2 separate regions of the Homo sapiens genome follow, and region 2 is linked to region 1. Evidence: promoter capture Hi-C in human tissues and cell types (Jung and others, 2019). All regions are on one chromosome and are shown on one strand. The core of a region is centred on a gene start or on the middle of the fragment in contact, and the rest is flanking DNA. Distances in the headings are between cores, read along the strand shown.

Region 1 (7,474 bases), core at 2,067-4,566:
GTCTGAATTCTGAACATTCTAAATCCCACATCCACGGCCAATGGCCACACCTGACTGGTCCCAATGGATGTGGTGTGAAGGAAGCGCACGCGTCCTCCGTGGAACACGCCGGCCGTCGGCGTTAAACTTGTAGGACAAACCGCCGGGAGACGGCGAGGGCGGCCCGATGCCACCAGGGAAAACAGACCCAACCAGGCCTGGCATCCGCACAGACCCGGGGGAGGCGGAAGTGGGTCCCGGGGAGGCGGAAGCGGGTCCTGGGGAGGCGGAAGCCGGTCCCGGGGAGGCAGAAGAGGGTCTTGGGGAGGCGGAAGTAGGTTCCGGGGAGGCGGAAGCGGGTCTTGGGGAGGCGGAAGCGGGTCTTGGGGAGGCGGAAGTGGGTCCCGGGGAGGCAGAAGCGGGTCTTGGGGAGGCGGAAGTGGGTTCCGGGGAGACGGAAGCGGGTTCCGGGGAGGCAGACGCATGTTCCGGGGGACGGGGAAGTGGGTTCCGGGGAGGCAGACGCGGGTTCCGGCGGAGGGGGAAGTGGGTTCCGGGGAGGCGGAAGCGGGTCTTGGGGAGGCGGAAGTGGGTCCCGGGGAGGCGGAAGCGGGTCTTGGGGAGGCGGAAGCGGGTTCCGGGGAGACAGAAGCGGGTTCCGGGGAGGCGGAAGCGGGTCCCGGGGAGGCGGAATCGGGTTCCGGGGAGGCGGAAGCGGGTCCTGGGGAGGCAGAAGCGGGTCTTGGGGAGGCGGAAGTGGGTTCCGGGGAGGCAGACGCATGTTCCGGGGGACGGGGAAGCAGGTTCCGGGGAGGCGGAAGCGGGTCCTGGGGAGGCGGATTCGGGTTCCGGGGAGGTGGAAGCGGGTCCTGGGGAGGCGGAAGCGGGTTCCGGGGGACGGGGAAGTGGGTTCCAGGGAGGCGGACGCGGGTTCCGGGGAGGCGGAAGCCGGTCTTGGGGAGGCGGAAGTGGGTTCCGGGGGAGGGGGAAGCGGGTTCCGGGGAGGCGGAAGCGGGTCTTGGGGAGGCGGAAGTGGGTTCCGGGGAGGCGGAAGCGGGTCCCGGGGAGGCGGAGGCGGGTTCCGGGGAGGCGGAAGCGGGTCCTGGGGAGGCGGAAGCGGGTCTTGGGGAGGCGGAAGAGGGTTCCGGGGAGGCGGAAGCGGGTCCTGGGGAGGCAGAAGCCGGTTGTACTGCGCAGGCCGAGCGCGCCTGGGGACCACACGTGGGGGAGTGAGGTTTCACAGCCAGCTTCTGGGGGCTCCCACAGGCTTTGGTGGGCCCGGGCTTGAGGCCCCCACCTCTGCCTGTCTCCTAACGGCCCGCTCCTCTGTGCATCTGAGTCTAAAGTTCCTTCTCCTTACAGAGACCCCTGATCCAGGTAGGCCTCATCTTGACTAGGTTACATCTGCAAGGACCCTGTTCCCAATATAAGGTAATAAGGTCAGACTCCTACGGCACAGGAATTGTAGGGGGACCCTTCTCAACTCGGTGTAGGGGGAAGGACCCCACTGAACCCAGCGTAGGGGGAAGGACCCCACTGAACCCAGCGTAGGGGGAAGGACCCCTCTCAACTCGGTGTAGGGGGAAGGACCCCACTGAAGCCAGCGTAGGGGGAAGGACCCCACTGAACCCAGCGTAGGGGGAAGGACCCCACTGAAGCCAGCGTAGGGGGAAGGACCCCACTGAAGCCAGCGTAGGGGGAAGGACCCCACTGAACCCAGCGTAGGGGGAAGGACCCCACTGAACCCAGCGTAGGGGGAAGGACCCCTCTCAACTCAGCGTAGGGGGAAGGACCCCACTGAACCCAGCGTAGGGGGAAGGACCCTTCTCAACTCAGTGTAGAGGGAAGGACCCTACTGAACTCAGCGTAGGGGGAAGGACCCCACTGAACTCAGCGTAGGGGGAAGGACCCCACTGAACTCAGTGTAAGGGGAAGGACCCTTCTCAACTCAGTGTAGAGGGAAGGACCCTACTGAACTCAGTGTCCAGAAAAGCAAAGACACAACCCAATGTGAACACAGGCTAATGTTCCTGGCCGCAGAGGCCGGGAGGAGCTGGGAGCACCCACCGGTAGTGGCGTGCGGGAGTGGCTGATCATTTTCCCAGACGCCGTAATGACTGCAGCTGTAGGACAGCTGCTCTCTCAGAAGACGGGGGACTATGCACGGCGCTGTCACCCCTGCAGGTGACTTCACACGGTTTACTATAAACCACAGAGAGGGGCAGACCCGTCAGCAGAGGGGAAGGTTACCCTCCTAGGTGGAGGCGTGCTGTGTCCAGGCGCCCGACTTCCCCGTGTGTTTGAAAAGGTTCATTTATCATAAGACCCAAGGTAAATAAACAAAGGCCGCTTCCTTGGCCGCCCTGGAAGTCCCTGCTGCCTCCCATCTGGAATCCTGGGGTCTGTCCGGGCGCCAGCCCCTTTCCAAACACCCCTTCCCGCACCCCCACCGCAGGCCAGCGTCTCGGGCCCCGTCTGTCATTCGTGAACAGCTGTCCGGGGGGCTCCGGTGGCAGAGACGCCCCGGCCGCTCGCCGCTCTCGGCCTCGCCCGCCCAGTCCGAGTGGGGGGCGGTGCACCTGCGCATGCGCGCCCCTCCCCCGCCGCCCTCTCCCCGCCCCTCCCCACGTGACGCCGTGGGAACCCGGACCCCAGCGCCTCCGGGTGGGGGCAGCCGCCGGCCGCCGGCCGGGGATGGGGGTCCGGGGTGGCGGGAGAGCAGGAAGGATGGGGAGGGGACACCTGGCTCGCGGGGTCCGGGGGTCCCGGAGGAGAGGGTGGGGGAGGGGAGGCCGCCGCGAACGGGCTCCCGGGGGGGGTGGGGGGGACTCACCCGCACGACGTAGGAGACCCCGGGCCCCAGGACCCTGGCGTCGGGGTGTAGCCAGCCGTGCGCGGGTTTGTGGATGAAGCTGCCCTTCCGGATCCACTCGGCGGCGGCGGCGGCGTCCCCGGACCCCGCCGCCCCCCGCCCGCCCCGCGACCCCCGCGACCCCGCGCCCCGACAGCGGCTGAGCGCGGGCAGGGGACAGGGCGCGGCGCAGCGGGGCTCGCAGGCGCCCAGGACGGCGGCCGCCAGCGCCGGGACGCCCCCCGGGCCCGCCGGCTCGGGTTGGGGGTCCGCGCCCCCCGAGGCCCCAGCCGCCCGCGCCGCCGCCGGGCCGCGGCCCAGGAAGCCGCCCGGGGCCGCGAACTTCCACTGCGGCATTCGGGGCAGCAACGCGCAGAAGGTGGTGGGCGCCTCGGGCTCGGGGGGCGCGGGGGGCGCCGGGGGCGCGCGCCCGCCCGGACCCTGCGTCATGGCCGCGGCCGCCCGACGGAGCCCGACCGGGCGCTGCGCCTGGCGCGGAGGAAGCCCTCCCGCTCCGCCCGCTCCCTCCCGCCCCCCGGCCCGGTGATGTCATCCGCCCGGCCCAGCGCGCAGCCGCGGGGGGCTGCGCCCCTGGGACCCCGGCCCTCCTCGTCCCGGAGCCTGGCCGCGAGGCTGGGGAAACTGAGGCCCTCCGAGGACACCGGGCGCTGGCCTGGAACCCGCAGCCAAGGCGGGACGGGGCTTTGAACCCAGAACCCCGTCAGCGACCCTCCCCGCTGCGCCCCCCACCCCCGCCCGCCGCCCAAGTTCGCAGAAGGACCGAGCTGGAGAAGCTTAGAAATTCCACATCCCTTCTTTCCCCTATTTCCTAGTGGGGAAACTGAGGCCCCGGGAGGCGCGGCCAGGGAAAAGAGAACCCCAGACCCTAAGGTCAGCCCCTCCCTCTCCGTTGTTGCAGCTAGAAGGTACCTTAGGGTCACCCCTATTTCTTAGTGGGGAAACTGAGGCGCGGGGAGGGGAAGGGGCGCGGCCGAGGGCTCACAGACGAAGCTCAAACCCAGGAGTGCCGGCTCGGGGGTGGGGGGGGGGGGCGGGGCTAGGAGCGGAGCCGGGCCCCTGCTCTGCGGCCTGTCCCGGCCTCAGTTTCTCCGGCTGTAACTCAGGGGAGCGGGCTGGAGGGTCGCGGCCCTTCTTCCCTCACTTCTGGGGAGCCCAGTCCCGCACCAGCTCATCTGAGCTCTGGGCCTCAGCCTCCCAGGCCGGTCGCTCCATCCCCAGCCTCAACCTCTCCGAGACCGGCCGCACCTTCCCTGGCCTCAAGGGTCGGTTCCTTCTGCACCAGAAAACGGGGTGTCACTGTCACCCCGGGACCCAGCCTCCTGGCCCGACTTGGCTGGAGCTCCCCTGCACCTGCCCCGCCCCAAGCAGGGCTGATTGCCGGGAACAAAGGGAGGGGCCGGGACGCGCTGGCAGGTGGGGAGGGAGGGAGGGGCGAGGCTGCCCGGAGCCCGATCGATAATTCAGGGGATGAGATCACAGCCGGCGCCGCCCGCGGGGCCGGGGAGGTGGGGGAGGGGAGCGAGGCGCGCGGTCGCGATCGGCCGTCTCTGCCGCGGCGCGTGTCGGACTCAGCCCCTGCGCGTCCGCGGGAGGAGCAGATCGTGGGCGCGATTGGTCGGGCTGGAGCCGCGGCTGGACCTGCGCGCGGTGTGTGTGTTGTGCGCAGGGTGTACGCTGTGTCTGGGTGCGTGTCCAGGCATATGCAGGGGATCCAGGCTGCTGGGTCCTGGGGTGTGTTCACCTAATGGGTAAAGGGTGGGACAGGTTTGGCGGCCCTAGGCTGAGGGCTGTGGGCTGAGGAGAGAGCAGCCCCACCACCCCCTCTCTGCGCCCTGCATGCCTCCCAGGCTGCATCCCTCAGGGAGGTCCCGGGGCAGTGTCGCACCCTCCCAAGCTCCGGGATTAGGGTCTTTCTGGATGGGAGGTTTGTAAGGTGGTCCAGGTGCCATCCCTCCCTGGCACACAGAGGGCTCAGTCACACGGCACCCCCGGTGTGTTTCCTTCCTGTCCCTTGGAGACAGTGGCAGGAACTCAGTCCAACATCCAGAGTTCAAATCCTGACATCAGACTGAGGTGGGGGCTCACAGCATGCCCCAGGACAAATGTCCAGTCTCTCCAAAGCACCATTTCCTCTCAGTAGATGCCCCTGGTCCTGAGTTGCTATGAAGCCTAGATGATCTTTATTAATATCCAAAACATAGCAAGCAGCTACTGATGGCAGATATTAGAATACCTCAAGCTCCTATACATCCTTCAAAACCCAGCTTCAATATTGCCTCTTCCAGGAAGCCTACCTGGCTGCCTGCTCAAAAGCTTGGCTCCACCTCCGGCCTCCCCTCGCCCTGGGTCTCTCTTCTGGTCTCTCAGACCCCCTGGCCACTGGAGGGCTACGGGTCTGGCTCTGGAGGGCGGCGTTCGGGTCTCTTTTCTGTGACATCAATAGACACGTTAAGGCCGGGCTCGGTGGCTCATGCCTGTAATCCCAGCACTTTGGGAGGCCAAGGCAGGAGGATCACAAGGTCAGAAGATCGAGACCATCCTGGCTAACATGGTGAAACCCCATCTCTACTAAAAATACAAAAAATTAGCCAGGCGTGGTGGCGGGCGCCTGTAGTCCCAGCTACTCGGGAGGCTGAGGCAGGAGAATGGCGTGAACCCGGGAGGCGGAGCTTGCAGTGAGCCGAGATCGCGCCACTGCACTTCAGTCTGGGCGGGAGTGCGAGACTCCGTCTCAAAAAAAAAAAAAAAAAAAAGACACATTAAATGAGTAAGCACATGTGATGCTGACAGCTCTCCAGCCCAGGAAAGGTTTATTGGCTAAGCAACTGTAGAAGGTGGAGTGGGAAAGGCACAGGCCTCGGGGCTGCCTCCAGCCTGAGTTTGGGCTGGGACCGGGGCTAACCCAAGCTGTGATGGGGATCCAGGCCCTAGTGGAGCTGGACGCCGAGTTCTGGGACACAGGAAGCTCCATCTCCAGCCAGCTACTGGGGAGGGCCGGAAGGTGTCCCTTTCCCCACCTGGCCTGGCCTGGCCTGGCGTGACCTGGAAGAAACTGGGGCACTGGAAGGAGACTCACCCTGCACCCTGCACAGGGCCATGGGTCACAGCCCCCAGGGACTGGAAGGATCAGGTGTCCTAGAAGGACCTGGACAGTTCAGGAAAGGGGAGGGAAGACTCCTTTCCCAGCCCCTCTCGCCTTCTAGCCCCTCCAGCCAAAGCCAGGCCCCAGGAGAGGCCCGCCAGCCCCCCGTTCACTGTGTGGGAAACAGGCCTGGCCTAGCAGCAGCGGCCGGGCAGCCTGTGCCCCGCAGGCCGGGAGGGCGTGGTGGCGGCCATGGTGCTGGCCCGTTTCGAGTGGCGGATGCCCATAGAGAACGCTGGAGCCCTGGCTTTGTTCACGGTGACCTGCTCTGGGCAGTGGGCGCCAGGGCCGGGGGTCTCCTCCAGGGGTCGCGGGGCCCGGGGCCGCCCCAGCATGGTGAAGGCAGGCAGGCGCTGGCGGTAGGTGTTTGCGTCCGGGCTGTCGTACTGGCCCGGGCCTGGTATCTCAGCAGGATCCTGCGGGGGGCGGGCGGGGGGGGTGCGGCCCACCACCGTGTAGCTGGGGCTGCTGGGCTTGGTGAAGATCTGTGAGCCCCACAGAGGGGGCATGGTGTAGGCATTAGGGGCAGGGGCTGAGGTGTCCAGGGGCTTCAGGGGGAGGCGGCAGCCCAGGGTGAAAGCCGGCGGTGTCCGATGGCGCACAGGGGGCACCTTCTCTGGGCTGTAGGCCCCAGGGCCTGGCGTCACCTCCGGACCTGAGAGAGTGGGGAAGGAAAGGTGGCACTGATGTCCTCACCTGCCCAGAGACCCGGCCTGGCTCCCCATGGCCCACATGCACCCTGGAGCTTACAACGCTTCTCAAGCAGCCTGGGTGCCTTTCTCTCCCTTCCCCATCCTCCATACACATGGTCTGTGTTTCAAGCCTCCAGGACTTTGCCCAAGCTGGACCCAGGGCCAAGCACGCCTTCATTTTCCACCCCTCCTCCCTGCTGCCTTCCCCAGCCCATCCAGGGTAGAGCCCTCACAGCCCTTCCAGAGCCCCACAGCCTGGGTTTTCCCCTCTCTCCAGACGTGAGCACACTGAGGTGGGATGGTCTGCACCTGCATCTAACTGCCCCACCAGACTGGGATCCCATAAAAAGGAAGGCATGTCAAATTTACTCCAACTCTCCAGCAGTTGACTGTCTGAGTTGATGGGTGAACAGGATAGGTAGGAGGTGAGTGGTTGAGCGGGGAGTGAATGGTTCATGAAGGGATTTGTAAATGGATGGATGAGTGGATGATGGATGGATGGATGGATGGATGGATGGATGGATGGATGGAACGGTTGATAGGTAGAAGGAAAAAAGGAAGGATTCATAGATGAGTGGGTAGGTGGGTGGCTGAATGGGTGGGAGGGTGGGCGGATGGATGGATGGATGAGTGAGTGGATGGGTGGATAGATGATGGATGGATGGATGGGTGGGTGGAAGGATGGATAGGTGGATGGGTGAGTGGGTGGATGGATGGATGGGTTGATGAGTGGATGGATGGATGGGTGGGTGGGTGGATGGCTGGGTGGGTAGATGCTAGGTGGGTCAA
Region 2 (7,474 bases), core at 1,313-3,812, 190 kb before region 1:
AATTGCAATAGGAGGTCTCATTCATTGCTGGGGGAAGGCATAAGGGTACAGTCACTTCAGCAGTTTTTCCAAAAACTAAACAAGTCTCACCATCTGATCCAACAATCTCCTTCTTAGGTATTTAGACAACTGCCTTGAAAAATTATGTCCAAGTAAAAACCAGCACACACATGTATAGAAGCACTATTCATAATAGCCAAAAATTAAAGGAATCATGACATTCTTCAGTAGCTGAATGCATAACCAAACTGAAGTATGCGGTGCAATGGAATGCTATTCAGCAAAAGAAAGGCATGACCTATCCACCCACGCTACCCGGATGGACCTCACAGGCACACTGCTTCATGAGAGAGAAAGTCATGACCTATCCACCCACGCCACCTGGATGGACCTCACAGGCACACTGCTTCATGAGAGAGAAAGAAAGGCATGACCTATCCACCCACGCTACCCGGATGGACCTCACAGGCACACTGCTTCATGAGAGAGAAAGTCATGACCTATCCACCCACGCTCCCTGGATGGACCTCACAGGCACACTGCTTCATGAGAGAGAAAGTCATGACCTATCCACCCATGCCACCTGGATGGACCTCACAGGCACACTGCTTCATGAGAGAGAAAGTCATGACCTATCCACCCACGCCACCTGGATGGACCTCACAGGCACACTGCTTCATGAGAGAGAAAGAAAGGCATGACCTATCCACCCACGTCACCCGGATGGACCTCACAGGCACACTGCTTCATGAGAGAGAAAGAAAGGCATGACCTATCCACCCACGTCACCTGGATGGACCTCACAGGCACACTGCTTCATGAGAGAGAAAGTCATGACCTATCCACCCACGCTCCCTGGATGGACCTCACAGGCACACTGCTTCATGAGAGAGAAAGTCATGACCTATCCACCCATGCCACCTGGATGGACCTCACAGGCACACTGCTTCATGAGAGAGAAAGTCATGACCTATCCACCCACGCCACCTGGATGGACCTCACAGGCACACTGCTTCATGAGAGAGAAAGAAAGGCATGACCTATCCACCCACGTCACCCGGATGGACCTCACAGGCACACTGCTTCATGAGAGAGAAAGTCATGACCTATCCACCCACGCCACCTGGATGGACCTCACAGGCACACTGCTTCATGAGAGAGAAAGAAAGTCATGACCTATCCACCCATGCTACCTGGATGGACCTCACAGGCACACTGCTTCATGAGAGAGAAAGAAAGGCATGACCTATCCACCCACGCCACCCGGATGGACCTCACAGGCACACTGCTTCATGAGAGAGAAAGAAAGGCATGACCTATCCACCCACGCTACCCGGATGGACCTCACAGGCACACTGCTTCATGAGAGAGAAAGAAAGGCATGACCTATCCACCCACGTCACCTGGATGGACCTCACAGGCACACTGCTTCATGAGAGAGAAAGGCATGACCTATCCACCCACGTCACCCGGATGGACCTCACAGGCACACTGCTTCATGAGAGAGAAAGAAAGGCATGACCTATCCACCCACGCCACCCGGATGGACCTCACAGGCACACTGCTTCATGAGAGAGAAAGAAAGGCATGACCTATCCATCCACGCTACCCGGATGGACCTCACAGGCACACTGCTTCATGAGAGAGCCAGGATGCAGAGGCTGTACGTCCCCACTTATATGACATGCTGGAAAGGCAAAACAACAGAGATAGCAAACTGATCAGTGGTGACACGGGATTCATGGCGGTGGGGATTTGAAGTACTCCATGTGATACTTTAACTGTGGATACCTGTCCCTGTCCACTTGTGAAAAGTGATAGAATTTTAAAGCCCAGAGTAAATCATAATGTATGCAAGTGGAATTACATTATTTAATATGTGGGAATATCCCTGGATGGAACACAGAATGTGACCAAGAATCTAACTGTATCACAAAAGATTAAAACAAAATCCCTGCAGGGCAAAACGTACTGACCTGAAAGGTCTCTTTAGAATTTAGTGGAATCTGGAGGCCAGGCGCGGTGGCTCACGCCTATAATCCCAGCACTTTGGGAGGCCGAGGCGGGTGGATCACGAGGTCAAGAGATCGAGACAATCCTGACCAACATGGTGAAACCCTGTCTCTACTAAAAATACAAAAATTAGCTGAGCGTGGTGACGCGTTCCTGTAATCCCAGCTACTTGGGAGGCTGAGGCAGGAGAATCACTTGAACCCGGGAGGCGGAGGTTGCAGTGAGCCGAGATCGCGCCACTGCACTCAAGCCTGGTGACAGAGTGAGACTCCGTCTCAAAACAAAAACAAAACAAAAACAATTATTGAACCATTGTATCTCCACCTGGAATGGAGCAGTGACTTATGTAAGTGGCAGATGATGGGAAGCAGGTCTCTCACTGCTGAGGTGGGAGGTTACAGATTAGCAAAGGGAGGCTACAATGATCCATGTGATAATAAACCAGAGGGGCAACATCAGCATCAACTCATACTTAGCCTAATCCAGACACCGACAGCTCCACATAGAAATCTCGATAATCAGGCGGTCCACATAGGTTGGAAACACACAGGTGTTTCCTGGCACGTCAGCTGTAAGACCTAAAGGCATTGAGGCCGCAGGGGCAATGAGTGCATTCAGCTCCTAAATATAGTTTTTCATGCGATTCTACAGTGAAAGGAACCAGGGCTCTTTGAAGAAATGGCTTCACTAAAACTAAGGCAGTAAAAACATGAGCCTGGATGATCCTGAAGTATCAAAAAGTAAGGAACTGCTCAGAACACAGACACACACACTCTCACCCCACACACACACACATACACACAAGCACACACACACACAGATTATGACAAAGAAAAACCAGAGCCAACAAGAGCTCCCAATGACACAAATGGGAATGAATAAAGCAACAAAATCCTGTAGTACTGAATTGTAACCAAAACTTGAAATAACTCTCCAGGTGTCCACACTGGCATAGGTCAATGATTACACACGTAAACAAAAGTGGGTGAGAGAAATCTCCTATGCAGAAAAATCCCAAATAATTGTAGTGGACACTCAGCCATTAAGGAAGTGGCGTTAACTCCCTGCTCAAGCATGACCCTGTGCCGGGTGTGCAGTGAGCCGAGATGGCGCCACTGCACTCCAGCCTGGGCGACAGAGTGAGACTCCGTCTCAAAAAAAAAAAAAAAAAAAAAAAAGAGAAGCAGCAAGCGCTGATGTAGAAATTGCAGGCAAGTTATCCAGATCCAGCTAAGACGGTTGATGAAAATGGCTACACTAAACAACATATTTTCTTTTCTTTTTTTTTTTCTTTGAGATGGAGTGTCTCTCTGTTGCCCAGGCTGGAGTGCAGTGGCGCAGTCTCGGCTCACTGCAACCTCCGCCTCCCTAGTTCAAGCAATTCTCCTGCCTCAGCCTCCTGAGTAGCTGGGATTACAGGCACGCGCCACCACGCCCAGCTAATTTTTGTATTTTTAGTAGAGACGGGGTTTCACCATATTGGTCAGGCTGGTCTCCAACTCCTGACCTTGTGATCCACCCACCTCGCCCTCCCAAAGTGCTGAGAGTACAGGCATGAGCCACCGCGCCTGGCCTAAACAACATATTTTCAACATAGACAAAATAGCCTTCTTACTAGGACTTTCATAGCCGGGGAAGAGAAGTCAATGCCTGGCTTCGAAGCTTTAGAGAACAGGTTGACTCTGTTCTTAGGGGCTAATGTGACTTACAGCCAATGGTCATTTACCATTCTGACCCAGGGCCCTTAAGAATGATGCAAAATCTACTGTGTCTGTGCTCTATAAATAGAACAACAAGCCTAGGTGACAGCACATCTGTTTAATGTCTAGTTTATGGAATATTTTAATCTGACTGTTGAGACCTATTGCTCAGTCTGTTGTTGCCCAGGCTGGAGTGCAGTGGCATGATCTTGGCTCACTGCAACCTCCGCCTCCTAGGTTCAAGTGATTCTCTCCTGTTTCAGCCTCACGAGTAGCTGAGACTACAGGCACCCACCACCACGCCTGGCTAGTTTTTGTATTTTTAGTAGAGACAGGATTTCACCATGTCCAGACCATGGTGAGACCATGGCCAGACTGGTCGCAAACTCCTGACCTCAGGTGATCCACCCGCTTCGGCCTCCCAAAGTGTTGAGATTCCAGGCATAAGCCACCACACCTGGCCAAGAAATACATATTGTAAGGCTACAGCTGCTACAGATAATGATTCCCCTGATGGATCTGGGCAAAGCAAATTGAAAACCTTCTGAAAGGGATGCACCTTCTAGATGCCACTAAGAACATTTATGATTAATTCATGTGAGGAGGTCAAGAATCTCAACATTAACAGGAGTTTAAAAGGACTGGACTCCAACCCTCACGAATGACTTTGGGGGATTCAAGACTTCAGAGAAGGAAGGAGCCACAGTTGTAGTGAAAATAGCAAGAGAATTAGAAGTGGAAGCTGAAGATGTGAGTACATTGCTACAATCTCATGATAAAACTGAACGGATGAGGATGTGCTTCCTATGGATTAGCAAAGTAGTTTCTTGAGACGAAATATTCTCCTGGTGAAGAAGCTGTGAACATTGTTGAAATAACAACAAAGGATTTAGATTATTACATAACCTAGCCGGGCGCAGTGGCTCACACCTGTAATCTTGGCACTTTGGGATGCCAAGGCAGGAGGATCGCTTGAGCCCAGGAGTTCAAAACCAACCTGGGCAACATAGGAAGACCTGTCTCTACAGAAAATTTTTTTACAGATTAGCTGGGTGTGGTGGTTTGCACAGGTAGCCCCAGCTACTTGAGAGCCTGAGGCAGGAGGATAGCTTGAGCCAGGGAGGTCAAGGCTGCAGTGAGCTATGATCACGCCACTGCACTCCAGCAAGGGCAGCAGAGCAAGACCCTGTCTCAAAAAAAAAAAAAAAAAAAAAAAGAATATTACATAAACTTAGCTGATAAGCAGCAGCAGGATTTGACAGGATAGACTCCAATTTTGAAAGAAGTTCTATTGTGCGTAAAATGCTGTCAAACAGTATTTCATGCTATAGAGAAATATTTTCTGGAAGTAAGAGTCAATCGATATGGCAAACTTCAAACTCCAGAGGGGACACTGCTGATTTCACATCCATTGGAAAGACTTCTTTTTTTTTGTTTATTTTTTTTGAGACAGAGTCTCACTGTGTCACCCAGGCTGGAGTGCAGCGGTACCCACTGTAGCTCATTGCAGCCCCAAACTCCTGGGCTCAAGCGATCCTCCTGCCTCAGCCTCCCAAAGCGCTGGGTTTACAGGCATGAGCCACCAAACCTAGGAAGACTTCTTGCTTTTTTTTTTTTTTTTTTTTTTTTTTTTGAGATGGAGCCTCGCTCCAGGCTGGAGTGCAGTGGCGTGATCTCGGCTCACTGCAACCTCTGTCTCCCGGGTTCTAGCGATTCTCCTGCCTCAGCTTCCTGAGTAGCTGGAATTACGGGCACCCACCACCATGCCCTGCTAATTTTTGCATTTTTAGTAGAGACAGACTTTCACTATGTTGGCCAGGCTGGTCTTGAACTCCTGACCTCAGGTGATCCACCCGCCTCGGCCTCCCAAAATGTTCTGATTACTGGTGTAAGCCACCGCGCCTGGCCAAGATCTCTTTCTGGACACTCTCCATGGGACATTTGCTTTTTCACTTCAGAGATGTGGAATTTCTTGTTCCAACAGTTTCTAGTCAGTAAACCCTGTGACTATCCCAGGCATGCCACGGCCAACCCCTTCCATGAAACGCTTCTCATGAGAATAGATCTGGGATCTGGCGGCCGCATCTCTTCCCACAGGTAACTCTTCTGTATGACCCCAGCTCCAATGCTGTCTCTTGTCCTCAGAATCTGTAATTTATTGGCCTTACTGATTGCAACTATATCATCCTTACAAGGCCCACAAGAGCCCGGGTGACAGGCACTGGTGTCCTTCTCTGGGGTTAAAGGTGCATCTGCATGTGTCTCCTTGTGGATCAAGGCCTCCATTTCAACTAGTAGATGTGAGACGTTTGCTCCAATGGAGGACAGGGCTCCAGGTCACCTCCTCCCTGCACATGGGCACTCGGGGCTAGCCCAGCCTCCTTTCCCAGTGGGCTACTTTCCAGTCTCACTCACAATGGCTCTGAGTGACTCTGGAAAGAAGACAGTTATGGAACCTCTCCCTGTCCAAGTCATTCTGCTGATAGATCTGCATAACTCATCTCAGCGAAGCCTGGACCGCCTTGGGAAGATTACCTCTGCCTCTGTAATTCAGACAAAGAATATGAGGCGCAGAGGCTGTGACCACGCAGGTGACCCAGCCCCGTCTGCAGTAGCTGGGATTGAAGCTAAGTTCTCACATTCACAGGGTGCCATGAGGGCCTCCTGATCTCAAGATCCAAAGTGTGGCTGGCATTTCCATTAACATTGACACACATATGTGTGAGCATTTTGATGTGTAAAATTTTGCCAAGTGTCTCACATATTATCTTTTATCGTAGTCACAGAATTCTGTCTTCCTCGATATAAATACTTGTCTTTTTAGAGTTGATTTTCCATAGAGCCAGCAGCTAAAATATTCCAAATGTGTTTTTCACCATGGTTGTTTCATTGTTGGAATTCATGTTCCATTACGTGGCAATGCATCTCTCTCTGCTGCTCTCCCACCTGAGCAGCAGCCAGGCTAACAATACGCCGGGGGCACGTCTCCTCCTGAGCGGCAGCCGGGCTAACTATACGCCGGGGGCACGTCTCCTCCAAGGGAAGAAAACACCTGGCAGGACGTGACATTCTGAACTGTGAGGACTTTTCGGGGGGACCAAAGTTTCTGAAGGTGGCAGTTTGTGTCTCAGTCTCCATGGGGTCCAGAATTGACCACAGAGCAGAAGGCAACAGGGAGCCACTGGATTCACGGGGTGGCTTTAACGTTTAAGCTCCGACATAAGAAGTCACGCCCTCCCTGCGTTTCAATGTCCACAAATACCATAAACCACCTGCATAACTGTCTAGGAGTTTCAACTCATCGTCCAACGTCTAGAGGAAGGTGCTTTCAAATGTTTATAATAGATCAGGTCAGGATGTGGACTAGGATGTTTTATCAATTAATTAATTGATTGATTACAAAATGTAAGTCTTTTAATCTGAAATAGGGCTGGAGAATTTAGCAAAGTATTATCAATTCCACATGAGCCTTCAAAGATCAGTTGTGCCATCTGCCTCTCAGTAAGCATTGGCATGTGACGTTTCTTTCCTAACATGGGGTTTAATTTCATTTAGCTACTGTTCCATCCATTCATAATTTGAAAATCATTTTGTCTTTAGAAAAACCGTACTACTGGCCAGGTACAGTGGCTCACGCTTGTAATTCCAGCACTCTGGGAGGCTGGCAGGAGGATTGCTTGAGACCAGGAATTCGAGACCAGCCTGGGCAACATGGCAGAACCCCAGTCTCTATCAAAAAAAATATAAAAATTAGCCGGGCA

Evidence for each region. Contacts are between HindIII fragments. The study calls those that stand out against the background at their distance.
Region 2: a fragment that was not itself captured here is called in contact with the fragment with the promoter of SHC2 in region 1 in 1 of the 25 tissues and cell types used here (H1 embryonic stem cells).

The regions. Positions count from the first base shown.
Region 1 is chr19:457,717-465,190 of GRCh38, forward strand. SHC2 (SHC adaptor protein 2) reads right to left here and starts at 3,317. Exons shown (of 13, transcript NM_012435.3): 1 at 2,813-3,317. The coding sequence starts at 3,280. CIMAP1D (CIMAP1 family member D) reads right to left here. Exons shown (of 4, transcript NM_182577.3): 4 at 5,645-6,648. The coding sequence ends at 6,128. The HindIII fragment of the contact is 8,702 bases long and covers 1-4,394 here.
Region 2 is chr19:269,469-276,942 of GRCh38, forward strand. No RefSeq gene overlaps it. Among named protein-coding and RNA genes, the nearest start is that of PLPP2, 18 kb to the right of the region's middle. RefSeq lists a silencer at 2,687-2,887. The HindIII fragment of the contact is 6,557 bases long and covers 1-5,841 here.